Linked DNA regions of Homo sapiens: region 1 is linked to region 2. The links are contacts of gene promoters, found by promoter capture Hi-C in human tissues and cell types (Jung and others, 2019). All regions are on one chromosome and are shown on one strand. Each heading gives the region's core, a stretch centred on a gene start or on the middle of the fragment in contact. The rest is flanking DNA. Distances are from core to core; before and after follow the strand shown.

Evidence for each region. The method cuts DNA at HindIII sites, captures the fragments that hold promoters and counts their contacts. A contact is called where the count stands out against the background at its distance.
Region 1: a fragment that was not itself captured here is called in contact with the fragment with the promoter of PPP1R13L in region 2 in 2 of the 25 tissues and cell types used here (IMR-90 fibroblasts and dorsolateral prefrontal cortex).

What each region holds. Positions count from the first base shown.
Region 1 is chr19:44,968,718-44,973,592 of GRCh38, reverse strand. It overlaps CLPTM1 (CLPTM1 regulator of GABA type A receptor forward trafficking), which reads right to left. Exons shown (of 14, transcript NM_001294.4): 3 at 383-506. Among named protein-coding and RNA genes, the nearest start is that of CLPTM1, 16 kb to the right of the region's middle. The HindIII fragment of the contact is 6,156 bases long and covers 1-4,875 here.
Region 2 is chr19:45,401,615-45,406,402 of GRCh38, reverse strand. It overlaps PPP1R13L (protein phosphatase 1 regulatory subunit 13 like), which reads left to right and starts at 1,334. Exons shown (of 13, transcript NM_006663.4): 1 at 1,334-1,404. RefSeq lists enhancers at 483-682, 653-1,448 and silencers at 3,608-3,697, 3,738-3,987. The HindIII fragment of the contact is 18,212 bases long and covers 1-4,788 here.

The DNA.
Region 1 (4,875 bases), core at 1,516-4,015, 430 kb after region 2:
GCCCACCTCCTGTCAGCCTCTGCTGGCTCCCTGCCCTCCCCACCTCTCACACTCTCTCCCTTGCACATCTCCCTCTGCAACCCTGAAAGGCTGAACATACTTTTGAAATATAACATCCAAAGACCCTGATTTAACCTATTTTAACCAAATGAATTTGCTTTTTCTTTTGGGTGACACAGGTTTTATGTGCTGGGGATGGACCCAGGTGACAGAGGTCTCACGTGTTGGGGATGGGCCCAGAGTTCCTCAACCCTGGACCTGTTTTCCTAGACCTGCCAGTGAGCAAGGACCTGGTCTGTCCCGACTGCTGACATCACTCCTCCACATTCCACCCCTCCACACCCCATCACCTCCCAAGTCTGCCCTACCACCCGGCAGTTACCATTAAAGTGTCTTTGGGGAACAGGTTGCGGCTGGCGACGCGTGGAGCTCCTCCGGGGCCCGCCTGGTCCTGAGGGGCCGGCCCTCGGCGGAACCAACTGCTGATGGCCCAGATGATGAAGATCCTGAGGAGAGAAGCAGCAAGGTGGTGAGTCCCCAAGCCTTGGCTCTCCGCCATAGACCCGCCTGACTTCCTTCTGACTTAGCACATGCTGGCGCCTGACCTGGGGCTAGTGACCAAGTCAGGGAGGCCCTGAGAAGGTAGTCACAGGGCTGGCAAGGAGATAAGATGTCCCTAAAGACCACATCTGGGGAGGGAGCCCAGATGCCACCGTTTGCCAGTGTGTGGGGGTAGCTGGCACTGCCCTGGTCTGCATGCAGACCCTTGACTCTAAATCCTGCAGGAGCTCCTGGTGACCACAGGGCTGCAGGGGCTGACTCTTGACTCAGACTGGGAAACCTGCCATCCAGCCCCCTGGGATCCCCCGAGAGGAGACTAAGAATCTGGAACCCCTTCAGTGTGCAGATGGATGAATTAAAAGAAAAAAGAAATAAAGAAAAAATAATAAACATAAAATTTTTAAAAGAAAGAATCTGGAATCCTAGCGCTTCAAAAGCACAGAACCGGGGATGGTTAATGGCTACAAAAAATAGAATGAACGAGGACGGGCGCGGCGGCTCATGCCTGTAATCCCAGCACTTTGGGAGGCCAAGGCGGGCGGATCACGAGGTCAGGAGATTGAGACCATCCTGGCTAACATGGTGAAACCCTGTCTCTACTAAAAAATACAAAAAAATTAGCTGGGCATGGTGGCGGGCGCCTGTAGTCCCAGCTACTCCGGAGGCTGAGGCAGGAGAATGGTGTGAACCCAGGAGGCAGAGGTTGCAGTGAGCCAAGATCGCGCCACTGCACTCCAGCCTGGGCAACAGAGCGAGACTCCATCTCAAAAAAAAAAAGAATGAATGAGATCTAGTATTTGGTAGCAAAACACGGCAACTCTAGTCAATAGTAATTTAATTACACATTTTAAAATAACTTAAGAAGTATAGAGGCCAGGCACAGTGGCTCATGCCTGTAACTTTGGGAGGCTGAAGTGGGCAAATCACGAGGTCAAGAAATCGAGATCATCGTGGCCAACATGGTGAAACCCTGTCTCTACTAAAAATACAAAAATTAACTGGGCCTGGTGGTGCGTGCCTCTAGTCCCATCTACTTGGGAGGCTGAGGCAGGAGAATCACTTGAACCCGGGAGGCGTAGGTTGCAGTGAGCCGAGATTGCGCCACTGCCCTCCAGCCTTGCAACAGAGTGAGACTCCATCTCAAAAAAAAAAAAAAAAAAAAAAGTATAATTGGGTCAGGTGTAGCAGCTCATGCTTGTAATCCCAGCACTTTGGGAAGCTGAGGCAGGCGGATTGCTTGAGCTCAAAAGTTTGAGACCAGCCTGGGCAACATGATGAAATCCCGTCTCTACAAAAAATATAAAAATTAGCTGGGCATGGTGGCCCATGCCTGTAGTCCCAGCTACTTGGGGGACTGAGGTGAGAGAGTCACTTGAGCCCTGACGGTCAAGGCTGCAGTGAGACGTGATTGCGCCACTGCACTCCAGCCTGGGAGATAGAGAGCTTGTCCCAAAAAAATTAATCAATTAATTAATTAAATTTTTTAAAAAAGAAAAGGAAAAGAACCGAAGGCACAGAAGCTTAGAAAGAGCAACATTTCTGAACTTTTGGAGAATTTTTGGAGAAGCAGATAGTAAGTGATACGTTAGTTCCAATTTTAGTAACAGTGGGCTTAATTATTCAGACCAACCCTCTCACTGGAAAAAATTGGAAAAGCTTGATAAAATTAATACACTAAGAAAATATCAATATATTTTATATTTGTAATTATACATATTGATAGAATGAGAATATATGCTGCTCACGTATTCTCGTATTTGTTCTCATGCATGTAATTTTTATCAAGTTTACATATGAATATATATAAATAGACAGCTCTGAAGAATGGACACGACTGTAGGTTACCAAACCTTCAGGCAAAAACTGAAGGGAAAGTGGGAATCCTAAAGTAGTAAAGGATCGGCCGGGCGCGGTGGCTCAAGCCTGTAATCCCAGCACTTTGGGAGGCCGAGGTGGGTGGATCACCTGAGGTCAGGAGTTCAAGACCAGCCTGGCCAACATGGTGAAACCCCATCTCTACTAAAAATACAAAAATTAGCCAGGAGTGGTGGTGCATGCCTGTAATCCCAGCTATTCGGGAAGCTGGGGCAGGAGAATCGCTTGAACCCAGGAGAAGGAGGTTGCAGTGAACCGAGATCGTGCCATGGCACTCCAGCCTGGGCAACAAGAGCAAAAAGTCCATCTCAAGGAAAAAAAAAAAAAGAAGTAAAGGATCTTGGATTTGCAGGTCTAGGGGAAAAAAAAAAAAAGAATAAGTAAAGGAGCCCTATAAGCTTCTTCATGTGTCCGAGGACATCTGCTAGGTGTTTTGGTGGGTGACAAAAATGCTGGCCTAGGCTGGGCGCGGTGGCTCACACCTGTAACCCCAGCACGCTGGGAGGCTGAGGTAGGTGGATTGCTTGAGCCCAGGAGTTTGAGACCAGCCTGGGCAACACACAGTTTCTACAAAAAATACAAAAATTAGCCAGGCATGGCAGCACGCACCATGCCTATATTCCCAGCTACTCAGGAGGCTGAGGTGGGAGAATCACCTGAGCCCAGGAGGTCGAGGCTGCAGTGAACCACGATCATGCCACTGCACTCCAGCCTGGGCAACAGAGTGAGACCCTGTCTCAAAAAAAAAAAAAAAAATGCTAGCCCAGGGCACATACAACATATGAGGTAACCAGAGACCTACCCTATAGGAAACTAAGACCCCACAAGGTGCAAGCCTCCACCCCTGAGAAGGAAGGAACCAGGTGGCCTACCCATTCCCAGGAGTTGCACAACAGGTATGCAGGGCGAAGTATGCAAGGCCACTCGTGGGATAAGGAGTCACGAAGGGCAGCTCAAGCCCTGAACCTGGTGCAAGGAAACCTAGGACTTGGTAATGCCCCCAGGCAGAAGCAAAGGCAATCCTCTCTGTAGGAAAATATGCTCATCCTAGCCCTGAAATTCCTACAAATAACTTTTCAAGTATAATGACTAGGACACAGACAGAGATAAGCCAGGCACAAAAGGAAACGACATTATGAGCGAGAATCAGCAGCAACAACAGATACCAAAACCAAAACGAGGCTGGGCGTGGTGGCTTACACCTATAATCCCAGCACTTTGGGAAGCCAACACTTGAGGTCAGGAGTTCGAGACCAACCTGGCCAACATGGTGAAACCCCATCTCTACTAAAAATACAAAAATTAGCCGGGCGTGGTGGCGGGCGCCTGTAATCCCAGCTACTTGGTAGGCGGAGGCAAAAGAATCGCTTGAACCTGGGAGGTGGAGGTCGCAGTGAGCCGAGATCATGCCACTGGACTCCAGTCTGGGTGACAGAGTAAGACTCCATCTCAAAAAAAAAAAAAAAAAAGTGTCCTTAAAGAGAAGAAATATTCCTTCTTGATTTATTCTTCTCTCCTGTTGCCTGGAGTGTGGATGTGATGGCTGAATCTTCAGCAGCTGTCTTGGGCTATGAGGATAAAGGGAAAAACCTAGCAATGGCACAACAAACAGCAAGGAGTCTGGGTCACTGAAGACTGCAGAATCCTAGTCTGCCTCCATCCAGACTGGTATATCAGAGAGAAATGAACCTGTACTGTGTTAATGGAGGTTTCTCAGCTGCATGCAGCCATGTGATTAAATGATTCAAGTACTTATTAATTATAGGTATGATAACCATACAGCAGAAGAGGTTATGAGCCCAGCCTCTAAACTACAGTATCTTCATCTGAAGCCCAGCTCTGCTACTTACTGTGACCTCAGTGGTCAACTTCAATGGTTGAAATGGGGATAATAACAGTGCCTACTCTCATAGGGTAGTTTATAAGCATTAAACACATTAAATTATATATATGTTTATATAGCGTGTATATACATCTGACACACGCACACGTACCTCAGAATGGAGCCTGGTGCATACCCAGTAAGTGACTGAGAAGTGTTAGCTATTACTGTTATTTTAATCATAGGAAAAAGGCATACAAAAAACTTTGGAGCAGAAAAACACTATGAGTAAATTCTAGTGTGGGTGGGGTGCCTCCCTGCTGAGCCCTGATCAGGGGCAGGATCAGGCACAGGAACTTGCCTCTGCCTGTAGAAGCCACAAGGCCCTGGGGTCCAGGGTCTTAGGGGCCACGGTCCAGCTGAGCCATCGCTACCTCCCCATGAAGTCCCTGATATGCACGTCTGGGGAAGGTCTGGACCTGGCAATCTCTGGGGATACCGATGCCTCCAGCAGAGGCTCTCATTTTAGTAAACACACCAGGGGAGAGTGTAGAAGCAGTGATGCCCCCAGGCAGCTCTGCCCCTGGCTTAGTGTGTGGCTGTGGGGGTCCTAACCC
Region 2 (4,788 bases), core at 85-2,584:
TCTGTCCAATATGGTTTGTTGCAACGCCTCCTTAAAGGGGCAGCCACACTGCTCTTCCTAAGCCTTAAAGAGACAGGACGGTCGATTGGTCTGAAATTCTTGAAGAGACAGGTAAGAATACTAGTTAGTAGGGCTGTGCTTTCTGTGTTAAATGTCTTCTGGGGAGGCCCAGATGCCTCACAAGTTCAGAACTTGACTGGGAGAAGCGGGAAAATGGAGAAATAGGGGCAATCCGTCCGGAGGGCGTGAAGTTCCAGCCAGGGGCGGGGCTTCTGGACTCCGGGGGAGCGGGAAACATAGGGGGAGGAGCTTGTGGTTCTCGAGGGCGGAGCCTCGGACCCAGGAGCCCCACACGCGTGGAGTGGTGCTGGGCACGGTGTAGCGTTTGTGGATCAAATGGGACTTGTAGATGCCCTCGGGGGTTTAGTCTCATGCGTGGGAAACCTCGATGACTTTCAGGAAGGGACCTGATCGGCGACTCCTCCCTGCCCCAGGGAGCGTGTAAACAGCGGCACGTGGACACAGATTTGGGGGACGCACCCACTTCCCTTCCCACTGGGGCCGCCCCGCGTTGGGCGGCGGTTGGAGCCGCGAGACGGTGGCTAGACAGGGTGACCCGACTGCATTCCTGGCCAGTGTGTCAGCGCCACTTCCCGCCCCCTCTGCCAAGATTTAGGATCCTACTCCAGAATTGGGGCACCCCTTCTCCCCAGGTGGGAGAGGCTTTCCAGAGCGGAGGGAGGGTCAAGGGGAAGGGGAAATGTTTCCCCTATCCAGGATCTCCAGACGGTTTCCTTCGCGTGGGCGAGAGAGACACCGGGGTGCAGCCCCTGCGGGCTCCAGGACTACAATTCCCACAGGACCCGAGGCAAAGAGTCGCCCGAGGGCGGTCGCGGAGGCTGCTGGGGGTTGTAGTCCAAACTAAGATTTTGAACTCTTGCTGGGACATCCTTTGAAGATCCAACCCGCGCTTTTTATCGACGGGGAGATTCGGGCTCAGAGACCCTGGGGGATACTGATCAGGAAAGGGGATAGTGCGCCTGAAGGGGTGGGGCAAGGGCTCAGGAGTCAGTCTCCAGCCACAGCGAGGCAGGCGTCTCGGCTCTTCTGTATCTCCCTGGCCTGGTCGCTCTCGGCTTCTGGGCCTCGCCCTTCCTGTCTGTGAAATGGACTCTGGGTGAATCCAAATGGGATCGTCTTGGGCTACGTCCTGTCCCTCCGGGACTACAAGTCCCAAGGTGCTCGAGGCGACCTTGGCTCCCCCTCCCCACCGGGACCCGCCTCCCTCCAGCCCAAGTCACGTCGTCTAACCTGTTCCCAGCTCCTGCCCCGCCCCGTTCTCCGCTCCCCAAGCCGGAGCCCGAGCTGGAGGAAGCCCCCAGGTGCCAGGATCTGCCCGGATCCGTGAGTTTCACCCTCCTGGGGACCAGAGGCCCTGAAAAAGCCCAACACCCGCGTCCCTGGGAGGATTGGGAGGGGACTCGGACGCCAGGTCCCAGGGCGGAATTTGGGGCGCGCCGACACCTGGATCCTTAGAAGGAAACTCCGTTGCCTGTTTTACTGGAGGGAAGGAAAGCGGGTTCGGATGCCTGAATTCTTGGAATGGAGGGATTCTACCCCTTCATCCCGGGGAGACGTTGGAGCTGGAATTCCTGAGTCCCTCGAACTGGGGGGCTCTAGGAAGCCGAGTCTTTGGGTAGTATAGGGGTTCGAATCCCCGAGTCTTGGTCAGAAATGAGAGGCTCAGACTGGTGGGGCTCAAGGTGGAATGGGTGACCACCCTGCCAGCCTCAAGCTGCTGTCTCGACCGATCTTCTAGGTCTCTGAGCAGAATTAAGGGTGGGGCAGGGATAGTGGAGCCTGGGTTCCTGAAGTGGAGCAGGACAGGTACCCGGGGTCCCTCCGGAGGCTGTGTCCCGGCTCTCCCCCGACTTTTCGGCTCGGGGATGGGGGCGGGGTAGGAGAGAAAACACCGAGGCAGATCTCCAACCTCCTCTGTGCCGCTGAGCGAACCCAACATGTCATTAACCTGGGCGTCAGACCTGCCTAACCAGAGAAGGGACATCCGCCCTAGGGCACCCCCTGGCGGAGGTGGGCTCCCCTATTGCCTTATGGGGTGGGAAACAGCTGGGTTTGCAGAGGTAGTTCTAGAACCCAGGGCAGAATTCCGGAAAGCGGCTATTGGATTCTGGGAGGTTTGCATAGCCGGGCATTTAACCATTACACGGAGAGGAAGGGGTAAACTGAGGCTTGGAGCTCACACAGGCAGTAGAGTTTGTAGGGTCAGGATTCTGCCTCCTCCTTCTTCTGCAGCTCTCTGGGGGACGGGATTCCATCCGCCCCCGCCAGATTTTCTGACTAACCTTCTGCCTCAGGGCTCCTTGCCCTGACCCTGAGGTGAGAAATGTCACCTCCACGCCCATCTGTCTGACCTGGGGTATTGTGGGAGATAAGGGAGGGACAGAGGCTAATTCTGGAGGTGTCTGTCTGTCCTTGAGGCGGGGGGAGGGCAGGACCAGGCACCTCCCTCTGTCTATCTCCCCGTTCTCTCCACCCCCATGCGTCCTAAGAAGGGGGATTAAAAACAGAATGGGGGAGGCGAGCATCTGATGAGAGAGGAGTGTTTCCCAATGTCTGGGCTTGAAGGGCATTTGATGATAACCTGAAATGAAATTAAAAATAATAACCGTGGTTGCCAAAACAGGGCTCTGGGTGTACCAAGCTCAGAGCTGGTAGGTAGGTAGGTAGGAAAGCTCGCATTGTCTAGAGGAATCTTGGGTGACTGAGAGGTCTCCCTTTGAATAAGGTTTGCTGACCCCAGGGAAGGACTCCTCATTACGAGTGGAGAAACGGAGGCTGGAGAGTGGATATTGCCCACACCCTGGGCTTTTGCCAGCTTCTGTCTGGAATCTTCCAGGGCTCTCCCAGCCCTCCCGTCCCTAAGTGACTGAGGGTGATCACTGGCCAGACTCAGGAATGTACAGGGGAAATTTAGGACTCTGAGAGGCAAGGGCTCAGGAAGTTGAGACCCTGGGTGTCAAAACTCAGGGCTTGTATGATCTCAGAAAGAGTTGAAAGGGCCCTTTTAGGGGAAAAAAAAATTACATTGAGTCTGGACCCCTCACTCTGTTGCCAGACCCTGTGTTATTATAATGAACAGCCAAGGACATCTGGTAATTATGAATCCTGTATGTGTGAACTTTATTTCGCGCACTGCATTGTTCTAATCACGGCTTATAAATTATGTCACTCAATCCTCATACCCCTTTGAGGCGAAGGTATTAATTCTTCCCATGGTCCACATGAGGAAACAGGCACAGAGAAGCTAAATAACAAGCCCAAGTAGAGGCTTAGAGCAAGAAAGGCCCTAGCCCATTCCATAGACGTCCACAAAGGAGGAAACCGAGTCCCAGAGACAGTGGAGCCTCTCCAGATTCAGTGTGACCCGACAGGGCTGTAGGAGTCCAGCCTGGGTGTTCCCAGCTCAGTCTGGCTCTCTGACCCGGTTCCTACTGAAGATGACTCCTCCAGGAAGTCCACAGGATCCTTAGCCCTAAAGAACCTGGCTGGGGTGCAGAGGAGGCCAGGGAAGGAGAGCCAGGGGTGGAGCGGAGAGAGGAGCCCAGGGGAGAGTACCTGCGGCTGGCCCAGAGCCCGCGGGAGAGCTCGGAGCTAGAGCTAGAGGGGAGCACATGGGAGAGGACTCGGAGGCAGAGGTCAGGGGCAGAGGCCTGGGAACAGACACACGGCCCGCGCCACCCCCGCGCCCCGCCCTTGTACCCCGCCCGGCCCAGCTCCCTTGCCCCGGGATGTACAGCACCTGCCCGGGCCCGCTGCGCATTCCCCGGGCCTGAGCTCAGGCGCAGTCCGCCCTCCTGGCGGGGGTCCGGGCGTGACCGCCCCCTGGTGGCTCCGACGTCCCCACCGCCTGTCCCCGCGACAGCCCCACACCCAGGGTTGGCATTTCCTGAGAGCCAGAGAATGTCAGTATGGAATCTGAGAATCTTGGAAATTTGGGGATCATGGCGCCGTGGCTCACGCCTGTAATCCCAATACTTTGGGAGATCGAGCCGGGGAGGATCCCATGAGGCTAGGAGTTCGAGACCAGCCTAACCACAGGCGCGAGAGAGACTAAATCTCTACCAAAAGAAAAAAAAAGAGTCACTTACAGCTGGCATTAGGGCTGCACAGACTTGCTCATTTATCTATTTTAACAGTTAACAAAGTATTGTTTGTGTATCTCTGAAATTCTAAATGCCCGAGTTTTTATTCCTGTAGTCTCTTCTTCCTGAGGCCTCAATTCTCAGAGCTCTGAATTCTTCCTGCACCTTCTGACCAGGTGGATTCTTACAGTAGTCCTATGAGGTGAACTTTCATCCCCATTTTACGGATTACGAGACTGAGGTACTGTGGTCAGGGTTGGACGGTGGTGCTGCCAGATTTGATGATTTTATTTTAATTTTTTTTAAGAAATGGGGTCTCATTGTGTTGGCCATGTTGGTCTTGAACTCCTGGCCTCAAGTGATCCTCCCCCCTCGGCCTCCCAAAGTGCAAGGATTACAGGCAGAAGCTACCATGCCCGGCCCTCAGATTTGAATTTTTGAAGTCTGACTTCTTACTCATGCTTTTACCAGCTGCACTATACCATCCATCTAGACTTCCAGAGCAGTGCAACCCTGGGTTAGGTAGAATGTGGTACAGAAAGACTCAGAATTCTGGGTTAGACAAATTGGAGAATTCTAGAATGTTCCAAAGATAGAATCTTGGACTCAGAACTTTCCAACAATA